2 separate regions of the Homo sapiens genome follow, and region 2 is linked to region 1. The links are contacts of gene promoters, found by promoter capture Hi-C in blood cells and fetal thymus (Javierre and others, 2016). All regions are on one chromosome and are shown on one strand. Each heading gives the region's core, a stretch centred on a gene start or on the middle of the fragment in contact. The rest is flanking DNA. Distances are from core to core; before and after follow the strand shown.

Region 1 (4,281 bases), core at 944-3,443:
GCACTTTCACGGGGTATACTGTGAATGGATAGGCTGAAGGAGATTGGATATCCATCTTGTGAACTAACTGCTTTTCCACTCCTGTGCCTCAGTTTCTCCTGTGGCTTCCTGTACCTGGAGGGGTGAATCCGTGGGAAGGAAAGCAGCTCCTCCGAAAGCATGCGATAGGATCCAAGGTGTGATAATTATAATTATAACACAGGATGCTCCCCCTCCCATTCCCGCTGGCCCTACTCCACCCCTGCCACAGAGGATCTCAAAGCAGCATCTGGGTGGGGCTGTTCCCCTGGCACAGGTGGGGACCTGAAAAAGAGAAGGGGTTGGAGGTGGAGAGAAACTGGGGAATTCTGGCAACCGGCCTGGCCTTTAAGGGCCTCTGACCTGCAGGAAATAGCCCCTGAAGAAGAGGTCACTGCCGTGGTCATTTGGCATCTAGAGCCAGAGTTGGGGTCATAGTCCAGTGACAGGAGTAAAGTCCAGGTCACAACCCTAGTTCAGGATAGTAACTCACAGCCAGTCGGGATCTCTGCTTTACTGATCCGACTTCACCATCCTTTTCATCCGGACAACTCATTTATTCAGAAATTCATGGCTTCACCAAAATGTAGTCAGTTCCCATGAAATGCTGTGGCCTGTCCTAGCATGGAAGACTGAGACAAGATTATAAAACAAGCCCAACTTTCAAGGAGTTCACAGGCTACAACTCTTGTCCTGTCCCGCAATTTAATACATTTACTGAATTCCTGGCACACAGCAGGCCTCAATCGATGTTTTTTTGACTTGAAGCTTACAATTTAGTTAAGGAGATAAGATGTGCACAAATTATGAGCACATAAGCTATAATAAAAGGACTAGCAAAGGCTGAGGAAGAATAGAAGAAAGATTAATTTGGGGTGGGAGGAGCAGAGAAGGCTTCACGAAGATGTGGCATTTGAGGTCAGCTTTGAAAGATGAATAAGAGTTTGACAGGTAGAGTTGGTGGGGATGGTGGTGGTAGAAAATCTACACAGAACAACTCTTCCTTATGGCTTCTTTATTCCTCCTTTCTGCCTTCTCCAGATGGAAGGGTCCTATGGCAAAACTTTAACCTATATTTTTTTCTTCTCCCACGTCTATCTCTGTATTTACCTGGTTTTTGTATTAGCCCTAGACTGCAAGTGATGTTGTCCCTCCCGTTCACTAAATTTTCAGTGGGCTCAGAATATGCCCTCTTCCTCTGGCTATCCCAGGGAGGCCAGGAAGGTTTTGTGTAATTTGGCGGTCACTTTTTATGCATTCAGAATGGAAACACATGGTCTGACAAGGATGTACTTATAGGAATACAGGGCTAGAGTACTTGAAATTAAGATTCTCCTTGCAAAGTCCAGACATGTGGTCTTGTCCAATGACCTTGGAGTAAACTGGGTAAAATGGCCATGGAGAGGGTAGAGAGGAACCTCTCTCCATTCAAGTTGTGCTGCTGCGCTTTTGGGACTCCTGGCCAGGTAACAAGGTGTTGAAGCTGAGAGAGGGCCCTGATAGGGAAACCAGGAACCCCTACGGCTAATTCCTTGGCCACTTCCTTGGCCTCTTATATATGGAGGTGGAGTTAGAGGAGTTACGTAAGTTCTTTCTCAGGGGTCTTTGAACTACTTCCCTACTTCAGGGATAGAGGTGTCTGAGCAAACCATGAGACTAAGTTGTGTGTCCTCTGGCAAGTCCCTCCCCTTCTCTGGGCCTTGGTTTTCTCTTCTGAAGAATGAAGTATACAGCGCAGCACTGACAGACTCCTTCCTCCTCAGTTCTGGCCTTCTCCGATTCTGTGGCTCCAAAGCTGAGACCCTCCAGGAGATCCGGGAACTTGTCAAGGCCCCCAGGAGGTACCAAGGCTAGCTGGGGTGTGGGACGCTTGGGTTCCTTTCTACCCACAAGGGCCTTGCCCCTTTCATCCTGGCCTGGCCTGGTGCCCTGGGCCTCCCTTAGTCCCCACCCTTGCCTCTCCCTTCATAGCCCCTTCCACATACTCGCAGGTAAAGCCTGGAGCTGAGGATGGGACCCCACCGCCCCCACCCAGGTCCTTCCCTCCTTCCCTCCCTCCCTGGCGCCTATTAGCTAGCCCAGGCCATGGGGGCGGTGGCTGCTGAGTCTCCGTGCCAGGCCCAGCCCCCAGAGACGCACCTGTTCTGACCTGCTGAGCAGGTTCCCAGGTTTCTGCCGTCGTTGTTGGCCACAGCGTGGGAAGCAGCTCTGGGGGAGCTCGGAGCTCCCGATCACGGCTTCTTGGGGGTAGCTACGGCTGGGTGTGTAGAACGGGGCCGGGGCTGGGGCTGGGTCCCCTAGTGGAGACCCAAGTGCGAGAGGCAAGAACTCTGCAGCTTCCTGCCTTCTGGGTCAGTTCCTTATTCAAGTCTGCAGCCGGCTCCCAGGGAGATCTCGGTGGAACTTCAGAAACGCTGGGCAGTCTGCCTTTCAACCATGCCCCTGTCCCTGGGAGCCGAGATGTGGGGGCCTGAGGCCTGGCTGCTGCTGCTGCTACTGCTGGCATCATTTACAGGTAGGACTTGCCTGAACCATCAGGACACTTGCTTCTGAGCCCAACCTGGCACTGACACACATGCACAAACACATAGACACACACGCACGCACACACATATCCTCCTTTCTTTGACTCTGAACTGAGGATCCAGTCTCTCCTGCCCCCAGCTTCCAGCAGTGCCCCCAGAAAAGCCAGTATAGCCCTCCCCCTTCTTGTTTCCTCCCAGCCCCCAGGCCAGGTCACTATGTCTGGGATCCCTGACACCTCTGCCAAAGCCTTGCCTAGGCCTGAGCTGTCTTGGGGAATAGACGTGGTGACCCAGTGTAGATGGGCAGGCAGGTGGGACTTGTGAGGATCCTGTTCACCCCAGGGTTTCCTAGAGGTGCCTTGGCCTACCCCCTGGGCTCTGGAACGGCTGCCTGGAACTGGGGCTGACTCAGAGCTCAGCTGGTTTCTGCAGTCATCAGGGTGCAGGAAGCCTGATGCCCAGAGAGTGGATGGGGGATTTCTATTTCCTTCTTTTCTCTCCATGATGTTCTAGAGCACCAGGACTGGGGCACCTGTTGGGGACTATAGGAGAGCTGAGAATGCCCGTCACTCTGACCCCTTCCTTTCCCTGGGCACAATATTAGGTGCCAGGGTGGTAATAAGGGGGTTTAGATGGATGGGGGTCTAAGGAAGGGAACCTTCTAGATAGGGTGTGGTCCCCATTTGTTCATCTCCTGTTCCCCCATTTTCTTAACTAGATGCCTTGTATTACTTCTCACCTCCTGTCTGTCTAATGCATATAGAGCAAATATGAATTATAGGAATGTATAATCTTCAGAGTAGAGGAGAGTGTGTGTGCGTGTGTGTGCACAGTGAGACCTCAGTGGGATTCCATAGGGTGTTCCTAGGGTAATGAGTAACAGAAATATTTCTCCTTCAAAAGATAGGGCCTGATCTGGACAGGACAGTTTGATTCTCAGGCCCAGGAGCAGTAGCAAGGGAGCCTCTGTTGCCCAGCAAGATCTGGCAGTGATTCCCCTACCTCCATCTCCAGCCAAAGCTTTGAGGAGGGAAATAAGGCCTAGATGTGTGGATTGGTGGAGGTATGGGCTGCTCCAACTCTGATTTTATTATAGGTCATGGGCCCAGCCTCCAGTCGTAGGATACTGAGCTCCTACCCCTGCCATCCCCTCACAGTCCCCTACCACCTGTGTTTTAATTCCCATCTTCCAGATAATCCTTCTCACTTGTTTAGGCCAAAAAGGTGGAGCCTAGTTGCTGGAGTTGGGGAACCAGCAGTCACTTTCCTGTGGGATCTACCCACACTTAAAGAGTGGAGTCATGCCATCTCAGGACTTGGAAGAGATCAAAGAGATCACCACTCCAACTCTCTCATTTTACAGATGAAAAAACTGAGAGAGATAGGCAAGTGAGATCTGCAAGATTACTCAACGTTAGGAGTAGACACACACGCACACACACAAACATCTCTTTCCTATGACTCTGAACTGAGGAGCCAATCTCTCTCTCCCACCCCCAGCTTCCAGCAGTACCCCCAGAAGAGCCAGTGTAGCCCTTCCCTTTCATGTTCCCTCCCAGCCCCCAGGCCCGGTCACTATGGCTGGAATCCCTGATTACCTCTGCTCAGTGTTAGAAGCATAACCAGGGTTAGTGTCTTGGTGTTCTCACTCTAAGTTCATTGAAGAATAGTACATTTGAGTGCACACTGGGTACAACCTGGATACTAGATGCTGGAGATGCAATGGTGACTGCATCAC
Region 2 (4,281 bases), core at 549-3,048, 310 kb after region 1:
CACAGTAACCATGGGAGAAGCTGGGGGCCCAGACATCTTTTACCAAGCGGAAACCTGGTCCTCGGGTCGCTTGAGTGTCATGAGTCCAGGTTTATCCCTGCGTGTAGATCAGCAACCTGAGCTGGGAGGATACAGGGCCCTACCGAGCCCATGTTAACCTGAGGATTTCCTGCAGCACCCTCACCTGGGAGTACCATCTGCAAGTCTATAGTGGGTGTCTTAGAGATGGCAGCAGTGGGTGAGGCAGTGTCAGCCTCTCAGTCATTTCTACAGCTTTAGTAACATTCGCAATTTGCAAGACTAATTTATGCGCACTGTTTTGTTTTTTGTTTTTAAAGATATGTAAGTTAGAGTTGCCAGAGAGAATCTCCTGAAAAATGTCAAGCCTCAGGACCTACCCTAGACCACCTGAAGCAGAGTTCTTGGGACAGTAGTGGTCAGAGAATGGGATTTCAGGCCCTGAGAACTGAGTTTTTCCACAACCTCCTCTTGTGGCCTGGAGCTTCCTCATTACTAAAATGGGAACAATACCTTTTTGTGAGAGTGAAAACATATGAAAGTGCTTTGGAAAGGCCTATGCAGATGCAGAGGGATGCTCTTATCAAATTCCTTAAAGAAATTTAAAAAATCTTAGCAGGAGAAACTACAAAGGAAGCAATGGGGTGGGTATCAAGCACACACAGCACCGAGAAAGGCCTATGAAAGATGCTACGCTGAGCCACTTTGAGATTCAGACAGTTGATTATTCATATAACGAATGGAAGAGTAGCCAAGGGTTCCAGATCCCTGGGCACTTGTCCCACACCAGAAAAGATGACATTGAAACAAAAGGGGCCAGATGGCTGCAGTGGGAGCTGTGGAATACCCAGATGCCGAGGGGCCAATTCTACCTTCAGCAAAGAGGACTTAGAGACCGCAGCTGTGTTCTGAGGACAAGAAGTCCCATACTGCATCAGAACCCCAGGAGCCAGGGGAAATAGTCTCATGACAGCCTCCCAGGGGAGATGGCTTCAAGGCTGTGCCTCACAGGCCACCTGAACTCTCGTGTTCTGGGTGGATCACAAGGCATTTTGCCAAGACCCAGTTTAGCAGAGGTTGAAACCTTTGCCTGAGAGAGATGTGCAAGGTCTCAGGGTGCTATGGCAGAGCCGTTCCCCTGCAATGAGCGAGGGGGACAGGTGGTGAGTGAGGATGGACATGGGAAGGCCAGCAGAGAACCTTCACAGACATTTTTCTTGGATTCTGTGATAGGAAATCTTCCTATTAGACGAAGGCACTCTTTTAGTGGAGTTGATGGGGCTGCTCTCTGGTCAGGTCCACATGGCTGGGGAGAAGGCGTGTCTGCCATAAATCAGGCCTGGGCTGGCTATGGCCTGCTTCTCACAACAGGACCAGGGCACAATGGAAGTGGGTTGCTGGGACTTGGGGTTGGGTTGCTCACTAGGGTAGGGTGGGCCCAAAACTGGTGGGAGAGGCCCTTTGGCCTCGCTGATAGTCATTCTGATAGCACTTACTTAGTGTGGTATGGTGTCAGGTGGAGTCTGGGTAGAGGATAGGGTTGTGCCAATCCATCAGGGGTGGGGTCTTCCAGAGAGCCCTTCTCTCTCTGGGTTGACATCCCAATGGCAAGGCAGTGCTAATGGTCAGGCTCCATCCTTCACAGGGTGTTTCCCATCACTGCAGCCTCACAACAGCCCTGCCAGTATGCAGGTCAGGAGTTTTCATTTCTAGGAAGGAAACGGAATCTTAGAAAGGGAAAATAAGACACCTATGACATGGAGCTAGAAAGTGGCAGATTTGGGAATCGAACTCAGGTATTCTGATGCTGTACCCTGTGCCTTCATTCTCTGGGTTTCTGGTATGTCGCCATATTTATTGGATGAGAAAAGGGCCAATAGAAGTCAAGTGGCTTGCATCCCAGGGCCTGATATATAGGAGACACAGTGGGGAGAGCCAGCAGCAAGGTACCCACCTGTGGGGATGTCCAGGCTGCCTTCTCCTGGGGGACACGCTGGGCCTGTGTGGTCCTACTTTGCACAGTTGAGTTTCCCCTGGGGCTGCAGTCGTGTGGGCCACAGGGCTGAGGCTGAGTAGCAGAGTAGCCTTGTTCTATGCAATATGACTTTGTTGAGTGTTTCAGGCCTGGTGTCTGCAGCTGCTCTTCTCGCCTCCCCCAAATCCTCCTGGGTCTGGCCTGGGAGGCTGGTGGACAAATAATGGCAATGTGGACACCTCGAGCACTTAAGAATATCTGGGTCATGGCCCTGGGGCAAGAGGAGACGGGGAGCAGGTCCAAGGGAGTGCAAGGGAGTGGGAGAAACCTCAAAGGCACACAGCCACCTCCTCTGGGACTCTTGATCAACACCTGGAAGCTCAGTGTATGCTGCAGAGCCCCCTACGGGGAAAATATGTAATTACAACACAGCTCCGTACTTGCATTCCTTTATCTATTCAGGGCAGGGTTGGGAAACTCAGTTTTGGGCTCAAATTCACTGGATTTGGATTTTGGCTTTACCACTTAACTAGATGAGACTTTGGGCAGGTTATCTAAGCATTCTGAGCCTGTGAAATGGAGTTGATATAACATCTTCCCTGTTTAGTTCATGGAGTTGTTCTGGAAATCAACTGAGATGTTAAGTGACATGGCCTTACATAGCACAAAGTTCTGGAACAGATGTGGGCAGATCCTGCCTCTGCTGTTCCTTCTGTGTATTCAAGGTGATGCAAGGTTTGGGCACTAATGCCGTGCATTTTCTGTCCTGTGAAGTGGAGGCCCAGAGCAGTTTCCCAGTCCTCAGTTTATTCCCTTTCGCACACACAGAGCAGCTGGCCTGGCCTCATGTCACACTGAGCTCCAGGATTAGTGAGGATGGATGCTGCATTGTCACTCTCATATGCCATTGACATGTGTGGCAGAGAGCAGAGGAGGCAGTGTGACTTACAGCTGGACACCCCTGGGACCCCAGACTGTTGTTGTGTCCTGTGGAGGGTCTGTCCTCAGTGTCTCCTTGAGGCTTGGGGACAGTGCTCTAACTTTTACCTGCATGGTCAAGAACCCATTCAGTAACAGCAGCTCCCACCCTATCTCAGTGCCTCACTTCTGCATATGTACCAGGCTCCTCAGTCTGCCCAGGGGCCTGAGCAGCTCTGGGGTTGACAGGGAGGGTGGAAGAAGAAGTCCTGGTTCCCTTCAGACCCTGGGGCAAGGGGGCTAACACCATTGGGAGGGTGGGAGTCTGGGGTGGGTGGGTGTTGGTCTGTGTGGTCATGGCAGTGGGAGGAGAAGACCCACTGGAGCTGGTGGGGAGGCTGGAGGGACTCACACAGGAGGAGCTGGATGGAGCCTGTGGCTTTCCTGACTAGGTGGGGAGACACTGACACTGAGGTTGTGGGTTCTCTTCTTTGTCTACAGGGTCAGGAACACTGGGAGAAGATACAGTGGGGAAGATATCCTTGGGGAGTTGGCCACTTGGCCCCTGGAGGTCCCAGCAGAGCAAGAGGTAGAAAGTGTTACATGGAGCTCTTGAGAGCGTGTTGCTGTTTTACAACAAGGATGAACAGACAAACCAGTTCTGGTTTCTGAGACTCAGGGACCCTACAGTGGATGACTGAACATTCCCCACCACAGCTACTCTCTTCAGATCAGCCCCCTGAGGCTGCAGGACTATAAGCCTATAAGCCTGGGTAACTCTGCATACTTCCTCAATCATTATCACCAGGGATTTCACCCTGCTTGTCTATGGTAAGGAGGGCTGGAGGGCCCCACATTTGAAACTGAGCTTTCCTCTACCCTGTTTGGCCAGACCAGAGCCTTCTCATAGCTCAAGCTTTCCCTTCTTGGTTCAGAGATGCTGTAGGAGTTGAACATCTTTGCCAGCTCCCAGATCATGAAGGATGGGACCTGCTTCATCACCCTGGCCTGCTCCCTGGAACAGGCTGGAGAGAATGTGCAGAACAGCTGGGAGCCTCCTAGTCATGGGGCAGTTGTGTCCCATGGGGGGACCACTCTCAGTGTCCCCTGGATATCTGGGGAAAGTGAGAGCTATCACTGCACTGCCAGGAATCCCACCAGCCAGAGCTCCAGCTCTGTCCTTACCAGACCCCTTTGCTCAGGTAATGTTTTTCCTTCTCTGACTCTCTTCTTCCTGGCAAGCCTTGGTCTAGTTTCTTAGCATCCCTGCCTCTCTTCCTCTTGGATCCAGGAGCAATTGAAGAAAGGGAGGAGCCAGATTAGTTGGCAGCAGGAAGTGTCTCTGGGGTGGCAGGAGACAAGGGCTCTGG

What was found. The method cuts DNA at HindIII sites, captures the fragments that hold promoters and counts their contacts. A CHiCAGO score of 5 or more calls a contact.
Region 2: a fragment that was not itself captured here is called in contact with the fragment with the promoter of NECTIN4 in region 1 in 2 of 17 cell types (erythroblasts and activated CD4 T cells); the score reaches 5.4 in erythroblasts.

The regions. Positions count from the first base shown.
Region 1 is chr1:161,087,470-161,091,750 of GRCh38, reverse strand. It overlaps NECTIN4 (nectin cell adhesion molecule 4), which reads left to right and starts at 2,193. Exons shown (of 9, transcript NM_030916.3): 1 at 2,193-2,533. The coding sequence starts at 2,455. It overlaps NECTIN4-AS1 (NECTIN4 antisense RNA 1), which reads right to left. Exons shown (of 4, transcript NR_183641.1): 4 at 1,019-4,281. The HindIII fragment of the contact is 2,777 bases long and covers 789-3,565 here.
Region 2 is chr1:160,775,780-160,780,060 of GRCh38, reverse strand. It overlaps LOC105371470 (a long non-coding RNA gene), which reads left to right. Exons shown (of 3, transcript NR_188636.1): 2 at 3,413-3,742; 3 at 3,847-4,281. Among named protein-coding and RNA genes, the nearest start is that of LY9, 18 kb to the left of the region's middle. RefSeq lists enhancers at 2,209-2,278, 2,599-2,648. The HindIII fragment of the contact is 4,063 bases long and covers 1-3,829 here.